Linked DNA regions of Homo sapiens: region 1 is linked to region 2. Evidence: promoter capture Hi-C in 16 types of primary human blood cells and fetal thymus (Javierre and others, 2016). All regions are on one chromosome and are shown on one strand. The core of a region is centred on a gene start or on the middle of the fragment in contact, and the rest is flanking DNA. Distances in the headings are between cores, read along the strand shown. Region 1 has its middle 140 kb from the start of MIR4290HG. Region 2 holds the start of GADD45G (growth arrest and DNA damage inducible gamma).

Region 1 (7,582 bases), core at 5,068-7,567, 570 kb before region 2:
CTAGGAAAAAAGTGATAATTTATTCAAAAACTCATTAAGGAATGAGGAGGTGGACTGTGCCATGATGAGAGAGAACAATGTCAAGGTCCACAATAAAAACAAATTTCACAGGAAACTCCAACCAAAATACACTATTTATCCAACTTTTAGAAGGTTTTCTTGAGAATTGCAAAATAGCAGTATCTACAGAAAATATTAACATAAAGTTCTTTAAGTCTCTAAACCCACTTAATGCTAAAACACAGTGTTTGTGGCATATTCAACCCATTCCCAAGTTTCCTGATGTAATTGCATCTCCCAGACTTGATTTCTGCTGCAACTGATAAGAATGCCGTATTGTGCCACTACGGTTGTCTGGGGCTAATGGATTCATTTTCTGTGAGGGTCTCAGTGTGGGCAGAATTGGAACATGGGTTTGTTAGTGGATTACCCTCCGTAAATTGAATGTGAATGTAGAAGCTACTGCCTTTGGAATTCAGCTCCAACACAATCTTAAAAAGGGTTTCACTGACTTTTGCAAAAAAATGTAAGTGATTTTAAAAATAAAAAAGCAAAATATAAACTTCTGGTGGAATGAAGCCCAATGCACTTCAGTGACAGAGATGAAAATTCCAAAAGTCGTAACACTACTATTGATGTCTATCCATCCTCACAGTAGATGAAGAGGAGGTGAGTGGCCAGGGACAGAACCAGCATTCCCTGTCTTCTGACGCCTTCCTCCTTTGCCAAGGCCATGGACTGGTCTATGAGACATGGACTTTGGATATTTAAAACAGTCAATGTGTGTTTTCTAAATAGGAGACACTGGCAGCTAGAGTGGCAGATGCGCCATATACTGGCGTAGCTGGCCCTCCCTGTTGGTGGTTTTGCATCTGTGGATTCAACCAACCACAGATGGAAATAACTCCCAAAAAATTGCATCTGTGCTGAACACGTACAGACTTTTTTTCTTGTCATTATTCCCTAATCAATACAGAAAAACAACAATTTAGATAGCACTTATGTTGTATTGAGTATTATAGAAATGATTTAAAGTATCATTTAAAGTCATTTAAATAAGAGAGTCATTTATTCAAATAAATGATTCATTTATCCGAATCCACAAGAGGATGTGCATAGGTTATATGCAAATACTACAGTACTTTATAGAGGGATTTGAGCATTCATAGATTTTGGTATCTGCAGGGGTCCTAGACCCAATCTCTCACAAACACCAAGGGACACCTGTATTTTATTTTAATACTTTTTTGTCCTCTACATTGTGCTACCTGATCTTTCTTTTCCCTAACAATATATACAGTTTGTAAGGAGATTTTTAGTCTTTTTTGATCACTTTATTCATCCTTAAAATGATAAAATGATGGAGCTCTCTCCAGGTCAGTGGGATGAAGACAGGGTCTTTCAGAACACCTCCCTCACCCTTTGAGCTTCTCCTCTGCAGGTGGCAGGCAAGGTATCTATGTTAGGGATATAGCTGTGGCTTTAAAACTCATGCCCATGGGGGTGTTCTGAAAAATATATTGATCTTAAACCCTTCTGTATTACACCTGGGCAACAGATTTAATTTTAATTGAAAAGTTGTAGATTTTATATTTTTATGTGATTCAGCTGAGACAACTAAAATTCAGGGGCCATGTCCTTTTCTGTACAGGTGCTTGAATTGGGCAGGGTTGTTACCAAAACACCAGGCGTTCCGTCTAGGTCCTGCTCCTTGCCACACAGGAAGCCAATGACTGAGACAATGAGTATTGCCATAGAAGAAAGCTTTAATCTGGTGCTACAGCCAAGGAGATGGGAGATCAGTCTCAAATCCATCTTCCTGAACAACTAAAATTAGGGACTTACATAGCAGAGAAGAAATGTAACACATGCAGGAAAACAGGAATTAGGGAGGAGTAAGGAAGAGGAACTGGTCAACAGGAAGCAGGTACTTAGGCAACCATGGTGGGTGAAGACTCTGATGTCTCATTGTCCAGATGCAGTGATCTGGTGAGTTTTAGTTCCACGATACTATCTGGGAGGCCTGACTGTTGGTTTCCTCAGAAAGGAACCCATATAAGACAAATGTAACTTTCTAAAGATTTAAGACTGGGAGGGTCAATTTCTATGTTTATTCAAAAGAAATAGTAAACATAAGTTCTATGGGAAAATTGGATCAGTTTCAGGGTTATGGGGCAAAAGAGAGTAAGTGGATAAAAAAATTATATTAGCACTTAAAACTATCTCCTGTTTCTTTTGTGTATAACTATTTCCTAATTAAAGTATGTCACTTACACATTATTCTGTATAATTTACCATAAAGTTGTCTGCCAATACTGATTCTGTTTTATTCACCAATAGCATAACCACACGAATTCTGCTAGAGTTATTAGAAAATTAAAATAAAATACTTGGCAATCAAATGAGTTTCTTTGGAGCATTAGTATATTATTTCTATGCAGTGCCATTTGGAAAATAGTAAAAGATAAACCAAAATTGTAGGACACTTTGTACAATTTATATAAGCTTTGATAAAGAAACATTGAGAAAGAGCTTCACTACAATTATCTTCAGACTTCAGTATCTACATCTTTGTGAAAAAGAGAATGCCTGAGGGCTTTAAGTTATCATAGAAAGGATAGTTCTTTTGCTTCCATAAAGATTTAAAACTCCCACCTCCAATTCCAGTAATATTACAGCACAACCAATGAGTCTTTTCTTTTATGATTTCCAGCAGTTCTCATTGCCAATTAGGCCTTTGAATGTAAAAAGCACCCATTTATAAATTGCACATTTAAATTACTTGGCAGGCGGATATCAATGCTAGATCTCTGTCTGTGCTGGTTGCAATAAAGGAAGGAGAATAGTAAACAAAGGGGGATGTTTAGTTAGACATAAAAGCATTTTAATAAAATGATTGAGGCAGGTGCACTGAAATATGAGGACACAGGAAAATGTAGCTAAGCATTTTATAAAGAGGTGAAACTCTGAATCAAACAGAAAACCATAGCTATTTCCTGTTCTCTAATTATTTTTATCTATCTATCTATCTATCTATCTATCTATCTATCTATCTATCTATCTCTCTTTCTATTTTTATAGACAGGTTCTCCCTCTGTTGCCCAGGCTTGAAAACAATGATGTGGCCATAGCTCACAGCAGCCTATATTTTTTAAAAAAGCTTTTTGATTTTTTTGTAGAGATAGGGTTTCACTGTTTGGCCCAGGCTAGTCTTGAACTCCTGGCCTCAAGCAATCCTCCTGCCTCAGCCTCCTGAATAGCTGGGATTACAAGCCCAAGCCACTATGACCAACCTTTTCCCTAGAGACTTGCTCATGGGTGGATTTGCATCACCCACCACAGATTGCCAGGATGTCGTATTTTATTGATGTTACAACTTCAATATATTAGAGATTGGCTGCATTTCATGAGTCTGGACTGGTACTTTGCCAGTTATGCTTTTTGACTCTCTCCTTTTTTCCCTGATGTAAAAAGCAAGTTGTATGGCATCCATGTAGATAAAAAGTAAGGTTAACTTTTCCAGGGAGCTCACTGAATGGTTCTGAAGGAGCTTCTGGAATGGCTTATAGGTGTGCTGAGCGCTTACCTCCCCTGATAGCTACGTAGCATATGCCACTGAATATTTGGCATTTGCTGTTTGGAGATGGCCGGTAGTTGAAATGTTATCCATTACCAGTCAACAAAGCCAATATAAAGACTCATAGAGATTGTGTAGTTTTGCCTGCCATACAGGTGTGCTGTTTGTCAGCAGCTTTGAGAGAATGTATATAAGTACTAGAAAATAAACAAAAACATAGCTAGTTATATACGAAAAAATATATATAAGAATCAACAAAACTATGAGCCTCCCTGCTTATCCTGCCTCCCCTTGGAATCCTGCTACTGTTCACTTGCATCATTAGATAAAAATCAACCTTTAAGTAATGAGATTTTCTGCTGCTTCCCTAAGTATCTATGGTTATATTACTTTCCCTTGGGGCATGGATTTTGTTCTACATCTTCTTGATGGCAAAAGTTTCTGCTAAGGAGTATTCCAGGAGGCTGACAGGCATCTTTTCTTTTTGAGTCAATACCTTGGTCATTTATGTAATGATGAGAACCCTAGAGATTTAGCAGATGGTGTGTTCAATTTGCACTTATTTGCATATCTGTTTTGCAATCATAAAGTTCTAATGACATAGTCATGACAACCCAAAATGGAAGCACGTTTTTGTGTTGGTAAATTTGGACAGGGTGCTGAGTGAGGAAGGCCTGTGAGATGCATGGGTGTGTCTGAGGTGAGAGGAGATTGGTTCAGATGGCCAGAGCCATGCCTTTATGACGGCAAGTGTATGAATCCTAATTCTGGGTTTCTGGTATATGTGTTAGGAGCATCAGATATCAGAGATCTAGATATATAAGAGGAACAAATCAAAGAAATGCTTTAAGTCATGGATCAGGAAGTATCGGAACCAAGGTGAGGGAAGCAGGGCAGCATTTTAGGAGACTGAAGATTTAATGGGCAAGGCACATGCACAGGGAAGATTTCCAAACATATACGGTAGTGTTCAGCCCTCTCTCTCCCAGATGGCCAGCCTGGGCTGACGGCTTGTAGGTGTTCTTTTGTCCACAAAGACTGAGCACTCTTGACTGAGGGAAGGGGTATGCTCTGGAGGCCTACTTTGCATCGCTCACCACAAAGAACTGATGTAGTCCTAGGAGGAGGTCCCAACAGGATAGCAGAAAGAGCCCCCACTGCTGAGTGTCTCCAAATGCTCTTCAGCTATAATCAGAAACAACTGAGAAGCTCATTGCAGATGCGAATTCCTAGGATCTCATCCTTGACTAACTGGATGCAACTCTCCAGGGCTGTGCTTGGGGTGACTGTCGGTTGCACATAAGTTTGCAAACCACTGAGCTCTGTGTGGATGTTGCACTCAGCTTCCTATCTAACCCACTATTTGACATTGTGCTGCAGTTGCGTCTCCAGTCAAACAAGGATGATAATGTATATTCCAGCTACTGGTTAAAATAACAGGAAATTCCTTTTTAAATTTGAAAATCCTACCCAGAGATTATTATCCTATTTTTTTACTGAACCAAGGGAAGCTCGTTTCTGGCCTCCAGCTGGGAATGTCATCAACATCAGTATTCTTCAATGTATGGTAGATATGTCAAAAAATGGCTTCGTAAGAGTTTTGGGTTCATTCTCTCCACCACCACCATCACTACCACCACAAATTATGGAGTATATTCATATGTTATTCACTATGCAGGATCAACATGTGAACAAAATGCACTTCTCCAGGAATGTCTGTCTAAGATCTCTTAAAGCACACCATATAATTGCAGGCAGGGTGTGTTCATGGACAGAACATAGGCTTTGAACAATACAAGACAAAGAGAGCACCTCTGTGACAAAGGAAGTCAGGAAGGCTCCACAAAAGAGACAGGGATGGGCTGGGCCTTTCATGGTATTCAAACAAGTGGAGTAGAGGCGGGAGCAAAAGGCCTGCTGGGATGGTGTACATAAAGGCTTGCTAGTAGGAAGAAGCAGATGTGTGTTCCAATTATTCATAATGTCCAATTCGACAGTTGTATTAAGTGCAGGGTGGCTGGTAAGATGATGCTATGGTTTAAATATGGTTTGTTTGATTTGGCCAAGTCTCATGTTGACACATATTCCCAATGTTGCAGGTGGGACCTACTGAGAAGTGTTTGGGTCATGGGCTGGATCCCTCATGAATGGCTTGGTGCCATCCTCATGGTAATGATTCTTGCTGTATTCGCTCTTGCAAGAGCTGATGGTTAAAAAGAGCCTGACACCTCCCACCATCCCCTCTTGCCTTTTCTTTCATGTGATCTGCACGCTGGCTCCTCTTCACCTTTCACCATGAGTAGAAGCTTCCTGAAGCTCTCAACAGAAGTAGATGCCAGTGCCATGCTCCTTGTACAGCTTACACAACTGTAAGCCAAATAAACCTCTTTTCTTTGTAAATTACCCAGCCTCAGATACCCCTTTATGGCAACACAAACGGACTAAGACAGATGAAGCTACTTTCCTCACACATAAAAAATAATACGTTTGTTTTTTGAATAGCCTTTCTTTGAAGAAAGGTGAGCATACCATATACTTTTGTAACTCATAAATGTTTTACATTTAATTATAGCTCAGTTTATTAAATCAAAATAAACTAAGTCAAATAAGATATAAACAGAAAACATTGCAGATTCTTTTTATGTGAACAAAACTTCAAATAAGTTACCTGTGCTTGGGTTTTCCACAAGACTGACAAGATTGCACTTAGTCAAATGCAGGAGTTCAGTCCCATTCCTGGGTGCTTCCCCGAACCAGCCCACACTGGCCTCAACAACAGAACATACGCTGAATACACATCACACACGACTGTGCCAGAGAATGAGCAGGTAGCTGTGGCAAAGCAGACCAGCACTCATAACTGCTCATGGGACCAATGCAACCTCTAGAGAGAACAGCTTCTCACATCCTCCTCACCTGCAAGGGACGCCCACATTCACCACCCACCACATGACCAGAAAACCCCCAAGCCAATCTTAGGAGACTAACAGCAGAATCTGCCCCCAGCTACATGATCTGGATTTTGAGTTACATTTTTCTAAAAAGAAAAGCCAAGCTATACTGATGGTTTCAGGTTCTATTTATTTTCATGGGAGCATCTCCAAGGCAACAAACTATTGGTTGCACCCAATTTATAAATCGTATTTTAATATCTCATTGGAGAATTAAGCTTATACACACTCTGCGTTTGTCCTTAAAATCCTGGAAAGAGAATAGAGCGGGAAGGTGGAGGCAGAATACAAGCAGAAAAATTGTTAAGAGAGAGAGAACACAGTCTTAATCTCTTGCCAATGAGGCCTCACATTCCAGAAGAGCTTCAGCCACAAGCCTGACTGGTCCTGAGGAGTATTTCCCCCACTCAAGGCAAGGTTTCTTTCCTTTCTAAGCCTGGGATTCTGAGCCCAGAGTCTCTGCACTGTTTACCCACCCACACTCATCCGCCCCTACCCACCAGACCCACCCATCTCCCCAACCCCCAGATACTCCCAACTCCCACCCTCCAGATACACGCAATCCCTACCTTCCAAGGCTCATCCAACCCCAACCTTCAGGCACAGCAACCCCATCCCCCAACCCAAGGGCAGATGGTTGAAGTAAGATTGAGGGATGATTAGTGTAGGTATCATTGAATAAGCAATGCAGAGCGGTGGGAAGTTTGCTGCCCCATCCTCCTACTTGTGGTTAGAAAAAACAGGGCATGTGGAAGGAGCTGGAGCTGAGTTGGGGACACTGCCAGGGTCAGCAGAGAGAGACAGCAGCAAGGAGAGGAAAGGAGCTTCCCACTGTGGGAGAGGTGGCCCATCCTATAGTGATAATCCAAAGAGAGAAATTCTTTTTTTTTTTTTTTTTTTTTTGAGACATAGTCTCGCTCTGTTGCCCAGGCTGGCATGCAGTGGCAGGATCTCGGCTCACTGCAAGCTCCAGCTGCCGGGTCCACACCATTCTCCTGCCTCAGCCTCCCAAGTAGTGGGGTCTACAGGCACCTGCCACCATGCCCAGCTAATT
Region 2 (6,930 bases), core at 3,476-5,975:
GACCTAAAAACCAAATATAAGTTTGCGCTAGGACAGAATTCAAAGCCGTGTAGTCATTCCAGGCACCCCGAGGCTTCCAGCTGGCCCTGCACACGAACTTAGCCACTCCTCTGGCGGCCGCTTGCAGCAGCTCAGGTGCACCACGCAGGATCATGTCTCATTGCCCCCAGTTAAGTCATAAAGTCTCTCCTTTGTGACCGTGGAAAGACAATACACTTTTGACATTTTGGAGGGCATACTCAAATGAGGAGTACAGGGGTTGGCATCTTAGAAAAGCAACTGAAAAACACAAGAATCTCAAAAAAGCAAAATTGGGTATCTGTTTACTGAGCTGACCCTACACGCCTTGGTTTGTTTGCCAACATCCTTGCTTTTCCTCTGAAAAATTCATTTTTTATTTTTTCTGAAGTGGCTTCAAAACCAATACGCATTGTACTTCTGAGGCTAATGGTTTAATAAAATATATAACACAGAGAATTAGAGCCCTTAAAAATAAAATAAATCTCAGAGATCATTTTGTCCTATCATCTTGCCAGGAGAGGAACAAGGAGACCTCAGCTCCCTATGTGGGCAATGCTGGGTGTGGGCAAGGAATGCCTGACTCTCCAAGCTGCTCCTGTTGTCATTCTGTATCCATTTCATCTTCACAACAGGTGCTTTGCCAGTGCCAATTTTTACAGTGACCATATGCAAAACTTAAAAAAATTAAAAATAAGAATGCTTTACTTTCATTGCTCTGGGGGTGGCAAAGGTTTGTTTTAGACATGTGATACCTAAAATCCTGCAAACGGCAGTCATGTTTCCAGTTCAGTGAGGGCTGCAAGGTAAAGAAGATGCCCCAGCTGGATCCCAGGCTGGAATGTGTATTTTCACCCAGGCACTGGAGCCTGCTAAAGCAGAGACAAGCCCTGTCCCAAGGTCATGTGGATATATGGGAGCTGTAATAGCATGTTAAGGAAAAGGAGACGGTAACTAAATCCAATGCAGACTAAGCCAAATGCAGCTTAAAAACTGTTGGGTGTGCTTGTGTGTGTTACAGAATATGTAAGAGGAAAAATAGAAGTTCAGAAGGAAATATTAATACATCAAAACTTGCTGATGGTCAGTTACAGGCACTTTTACTTATTTCTTTAATGTTGATGTATTTTACAATTTTTCTGCAATGAATACATATAACTTATAAAGGTAGAAAGTTATCTAATGAAAATAGCCTTCTTTCCAAAATAAGCCTGCCGCAAGTGCTCCAGCACCCGGAAGTTCATGGCAGCAACGTGTTGGTCCTGAAACCAGACGGCTAGTCCAAAACCCACTAGTTCACTTGGAGTTCTGTGGTCTGGGACAAATGTCTTCGTTAGCTTTTAAGTATTATTGTCATTAACATTCATTCAGTGCTTTCTAGATGCCAGGCATTGTGCTCGTCTTTATGGGTCACCCCCAACACATATGTAGTGATAATTACCACGCACTGAGGGCTTATATATGCATTATCATATAGGGTTGTTGGAAGTACTAAATGCAATTATGTGTTTATAAACACTGGACATTTTATTATCTGCCCTCTGAGTTAGTTCATGTTAATAGCATTAAACACCTGTTCATCAAAAAAAAAAAAAAAGAAAAAGTTTAGCACAACTTTTGGGCATGGCACTGTGTCCCATCATGCATTTATTCACCTGAAAATTCTCCTAGCCCTTTGGGGTTCCAACAGGTGGCCTCATAGCAAGCTCTAATCAAAAAACCAAGGGCTTACAACCTCATGTTCTACAAGTGTCGCTTGGCCAACAGGAGGGTCTGCCTACCTGCTCTGTGCAATGTTCTGCTGAATTTACTCATTTAAGGGTTCATTTTAAAGTAATCAAGTCCACTTTGTGTTTACAATAGCATGTTCTGGTCATTTTGCTGGAACGCAGACTGGTAGACAGGCCCACCCCAAGACTACCTCAATAAGAAAACCTTAAGATTTCAAGCAGCAAATAGGTAAAATAGTAATGAAAATTGGGCACAAATACAACTGAATTTTTTATCTAGGCTTCTGTCCCATTGAGGAGTAGATGTTTTTAGGAGCTGATAAATGGAAAACAAGGACGCTTTCATTACAAGAAGAGTAATTCAGTACAGTTTTCCTGTTGCCTCAAGAATCCTCCCGTAATTTGGACGGAATTTTAGGACGTGGCACTCAATGAGGTAAATCAGCCACCCCAAGCACTGAAGACAGCACATCATGCCTCCTTTGCCCAGAAGGCTCAGCCTGCTTGGCAGTCTAGCTGACAGCACAAGGGTCCCACATGTATTTCCCCTGCTGAAAGCAGCTAGTTAGACACAGAACGAACTCAAGGCATATTGGTCTCATAAAAAAGATTGATTCGATCAGGACATTTCCCCCTAGTTCCTTTTTAAAGAAAGTCTTGGCTTAAAATATTTAATTTTTTTTTCCTATGAGTCTTTAAACGGAATTGTGAATAGCAGCAATCCTCGTAACTCTGATGTGGGCAGAGAACACTGAAAATAGTAGATAGCAGATGCCAGGCCCCCTCAGAATTGCTCATGCCTATTTATATAGATGCTGCCTTCCAATTTTTTCTCAGATCTTCCAAGTTCTATCACAGCCATGACAAAGTAATGACTCATACTTAAATGCAGTCATCAATGTCATATTTGGTATTAGTACCTTTGTAGCATTGCTTTGTGTCAGAGCATTTAAGAGGAAAAAGTCCCCAAGAGCAGGAGCAGTCTGCCACCATCCTCAGGGACCACAAAGGGCAGGGCCTGCAGAAGGCAATGCTCATTGTGCAGGAAAGCCTGAGGCCTCCTGCAAGCTGTTCAGATAAGCAGCTGTAGGAGGGAGGGGGAGGAGGGCCGAGGAGGGGGAGGGGAGGCACAGGTCACTGTTATCGCCTTGGAAGGCAAGACTTCAGCTGCTGCACTGTCTTATCTCAAGTATGCTCCTGTTTTGCAAGTTTAAAATCTTCCTAAAAGGAGAAAAGTAGGAGCCAGGCTCAAGTTCTACCCTAGCACTGGGCAGCATGCCCTCCCTCTGCCAGAGGGGAGGAGCCTGTCATTCTTGCCCGACAGGAAGACGGAACAGGTGCCATCAGTTCCACGGAGTTCCAGCAATCCTCTGAAACCCTGCACGCCACCTCCCCCGACACAAAGATCCCCTACCCTCAATAAAGAGCATAAGTTTGTTTCAAAAAGTTTATTGTAAAATTCAAAGCTTCAACAGCAGCATCCTTTAGAAAACGAAGCATTGCCCGGATCCGTTTTGAAAAAGCAGCGCAGTCGGCTAAGTCCTTCACGCTCCTGCAACTGTACCAAGTCCAGGGCGCCGCTCCTTCCTGCCGAGCGCAGGCTGCTGAGTCACGCCTGCCCGGCCAGTCTGTCCTTCCTGGCCCTGAGGCCAACGTCCTAGCCTAGGCCTTCCTGGGCGAGCAGCCGCTCCAGACACTTGCAGAGTCCTCAGCTCGGACCAGCCTGGCCCTGCCGCCACCGGGCCCCTCCTCGGGAGGCCGCGCCTCCTCGCTCTCCAGGCGCCCCCCCCGCCTGCCAGTCTCCACGCCGCACTCGGGCACCCTCGGAGGGCCCCTCCACAGAGCCAGCCGCGCTCTAGGCGCCCCGGGGCGTCACCACGTCGATCAGACCAAGGTCCCCGCCGGGCTGTCACTCGGGGAGGGTGATGCTGGGCACCCAGTCGTTAACGCTGCGGCTCTCCTCGCAAAACAGGCTGAGCTTCTCCAAGGCGGGATCCTTCCAGGCGTCCTCGTTGGGGTTCTGCGGAGAGAGAGCAGGGTCAGCCTGGCTGGCCGCGGGCCGAGGCGGGAACGACACTGGGGCGGGGACAGGACGGGACTGTACTCACCGAAATGAGGATGCAGTGCAGGTCGCCCGGCGCACCCGCCTCCTCGCCGGCGCCCACGATAGCCGCCAGCCGCTGCACATCGCCCACGCGCACTATGTCGATGTCGTTCTCGCAGCAGAAAGCCTGGATCAGCGTAAAATGGATCTGCAGCGCGATGTCGCCCTCGTCCTCCTCACCCGCAGCCAGCACACAGAAGGTCACATTGTCGGGGTCCCTGCGAGGGCAAGGCGGGGACCTAGGTCAGAACCGGCTAGCCGAGTTCTCCCGCCGCCACCCCTCCCATCCGCCAGTCTCCTCGCCATTCACCCCCGCCCCTGTCTCCCAGCCTGGGCCGCGTCTACACTTACACGTTCAAGACTTTGGCTGACTCGTAGACGCCGGCAGTGAGGCAGCCCTGACGCTGCGCCGACAGCAGCAACTCATGCAGCGCTTTCCCGGCACCCTGCATCCTGCGGAGGAGCCAGCGCAGTGAGCGGGAGCCGGCCGGAGGGCGCGGCGGAGACCCCAGCCCCGGCCACCGGCACACACCCTTGGCTCCCCAACTCCAACCACACTCCAATCCCGGCTCAGCGCCTGCACCCCGGCTCTCCAACCGGGATCTGGCGCCCGGACCCCCGCGCTCCCCTCCTACCCCGCGGATTCCCACCCTGGAAAACCCTGACGGTCGCCGACCGACCAGCGGCTTTCTCAGCGCCCTGAAACCCACCTGGCTGTGCTTTCCGGAACTGTGTCCTGGCCGCGGACTTCTTCCAGAGTCATAGTGCGATCAACCAGCAGCTAGTTATCCACAAGCGGAGAGCGCGGAGGGGACGCGGGCGAACACACTGACAGCCAGAGCTCAGCACGGCGCGCCCACCACCAGCGAGTGCGCCCCTACTACGCTGCGCGCCCTTATATAGGCTGGTGGGTGCGGCGCCGCCAGCTGGCGCGAGGCTGCGCGCCTATTGGCCGGCACCCGCTTTCTGATGTAAATGAGGCGGCGAGCCAGCGGCTCGTGCCAGAAGGCCACGTGGGGAGGGGTGCGGGGGATGACAATGCCTCAAATCTGCCGCTTTTGTTGGGGTGTTACCAGGCAGACTGGAGCCTGCAGATTTCATCTCGCCTGGCTTTTTTTTTTTTTTGAAGTCCTTAAAAGGAAAAAGTAAAAAAAAAAAAAAAAGAAAAAACCCAACCCACAAAAACCTTGTTTGCTTATATGATGCTGCAATTTGCGAAAAGCACCTTTATAGAAGCAAAGGGATTTTTTTTTGCATTTTGTATTGCTACCTTTCTATTTGTTTCTTTTCTTTAATTTGAAGTCTATGAGACTGTTGCATTGGAGCCAGAAATTAAGGTAAAAACAGGTAGCGCCAGTTAGAGGCTTGCAAAAGGCAGTGGGCACAGCCCCCTGCAGCTGACCACTAGCGTCCCGAGCGCGCTGGTGATGCCTGCCAGGCATACTCAATGTGTACATTGAGCCGTCTCTGGAAGATCCCACCCCACCTCCCCGCCCTTGGCCGAGCGCGGCGGGGCGCGGGAGACGGGGGCGGGCGGGGACGAGCAGATTGCGGCCGGCGCACGCCGCTCGTTTGCATTTCTATGGAGGGCGCACAATAGCAGAGGTCTGGCGTGTGGCGGTTTGCTGTAGGGACAATCGAGGCTTTCTCTTCATAGCAACACTGTCCACCTGCCGCCGGGTGGGGTGGGCAGGACCCCGCCGCGCGTGGGGGTCGCCGGGCTGCCTGGCGCGTGGGGTCGAGGCTGAGTGCCACTCCGTGGTCCCTGAGTGCACGCCCCCAGTACTGGCCCTGCTACAAGTAATTCCCTTCCATCCGTTCCTCGCACGGGTGCCGAACAGCCGCGCGAGTTGGGAAGGACGGAGAGCTGCTGTGCAGTCTTCGCGGCTGGACGCCCTGTGGCCGGGACCCCGCGGCTGCAGCCCCTGGAGCTTAGGTAATGCAGCTCGGAATCTTTCCCGGGGCGCCATCTGCAGGCAGGTTAAAAAGATCCTGAACCCCTTTTGTCCTCCCCTCCCCCCAACACACACACCCTTGCATTGGCCTGGCGCGGGGGAAGGGCGGTGGAGAGGGACGGCCACGGAGCTGCCCGGCCGGGCCCAGTGAGCCCTGTCCAAGCTGCGCATAAATAGAACCCGAGTAAGGGCTGCAAAACGCATTCAGGTGGGACTGCAGTTACCCTGGGGAGTAGAGGGCAAAAGGAAATTCCCATCCAGTACTGATGGAGTAAGAGCCCCTACGTCTTATACCATGTTGAAATATCTTAATTACTTAAATGCGCATATGTAAAAAGCCTTTTTTCCGGCAATGGAATAAGTCTGGAAGAGATCTTGGGAGAGTTTAATAGGCTAGAGGTTGCTGCCGTTTGACCATACACGCTGGCACTTTCAGAGGATTCACCCACTGAGCACCTTCTGTGCTACGTGAAAAGGCGCGCTGGGGGACACCTCATTGCTTCCTTTTTTTGGGTGAAGCCTTGGAGACTGGCCAGGACAGTGGCGGGCCGGGTGGATTGGATGGAAACCCGGGCCCTGCCGCAAGACTGGGGCGATAATGGGAAAGTAAACAACGCCGTGGCTTTGTTCCTTTCATTCAGGCTTTCTTCAGGTGGGTGGTGAATGTACAAGGTACTTCTGAATTTGTTATGGGGAAGTTTCCATTCTGCGCTTGCAGGCAGGCACTTCTGCCAAGGTGAGAAGCTGGCGTCTTGCGCCCCCCAGCGGCTTCCTGGCAGAGGAGAGCTGCAAAAGCCCGGCCCTTCCTGGATTCTAAGAATGAAGAGCTTGCTCTCCTAGCATTTCTGAACTCCAGAGGTGTCTCCTAAGGACGGGGGGAGAGGGGAGGGGGAAGCGGAGCCAGGCGGCATTATGCCCCGTTTGTTCGCTAGTTTCTTTTCTTTCTTGATGTATAAAATGATGATATGCCTTGATTGGATAAAATATGTTAATTTTAAGTGATTGGAATATAGGTATTACTCTTTTAAAACTATTAAACTTTTCTTTTCTTTTCTTTTCTTTTTTGAGACGGAGTCTCGCTCGGTTGCCCAGGCTGGAGTGCGGTGGCACAATCTCGGCTCAC

What was found. Contacts are between HindIII fragments. The CHiCAGO score rates a contact against its expected background, and 5 or more counts as called.
Region 1: a fragment that was not itself captured here is called in contact with the fragment with the promoter of GADD45G in region 2 in 4 of 17 cell types (total B cells, naive CD4 T cells, naive B cells and 1 more); the score reaches 7.1 in total B cells.

The regions. Positions count from the first base shown.
Region 1 is chr9:90,174,949-90,182,530 of GRCh38, reverse strand. No RefSeq gene overlaps it. Among named protein-coding and RNA genes, the nearest start is that of MIR4290HG, 140 kb to the right of the region's middle. RefSeq lists a silencer at 6,469-6,528. The HindIII fragment of the contact is 863 bases long and covers 5,886-6,748 here.
Region 2 is chr9:89,602,807-89,609,736 of GRCh38, reverse strand. It overlaps GADD45G (growth arrest and DNA damage inducible gamma), which reads right to left and starts at 4,725. Exons shown (of 4, transcript NM_006705.4): 1 at 4,563-4,725; 2 at 4,204-4,305; 3 at 3,857-4,070; 4 at 3,182-3,768. The coding sequence starts at 4,615. The coding sequence ends at 3,658. LOC105376139 (a long non-coding RNA gene) reads left to right here and starts at 4,721. Exons shown (of 2, transcript XR_930105.3): 1 at 4,721-6,930. RefSeq lists a silencer at 5,356-5,405 and an enhancer at 5,016-5,914. The HindIII fragment of the contact is 4,421 bases long and covers 3,217-6,930 here.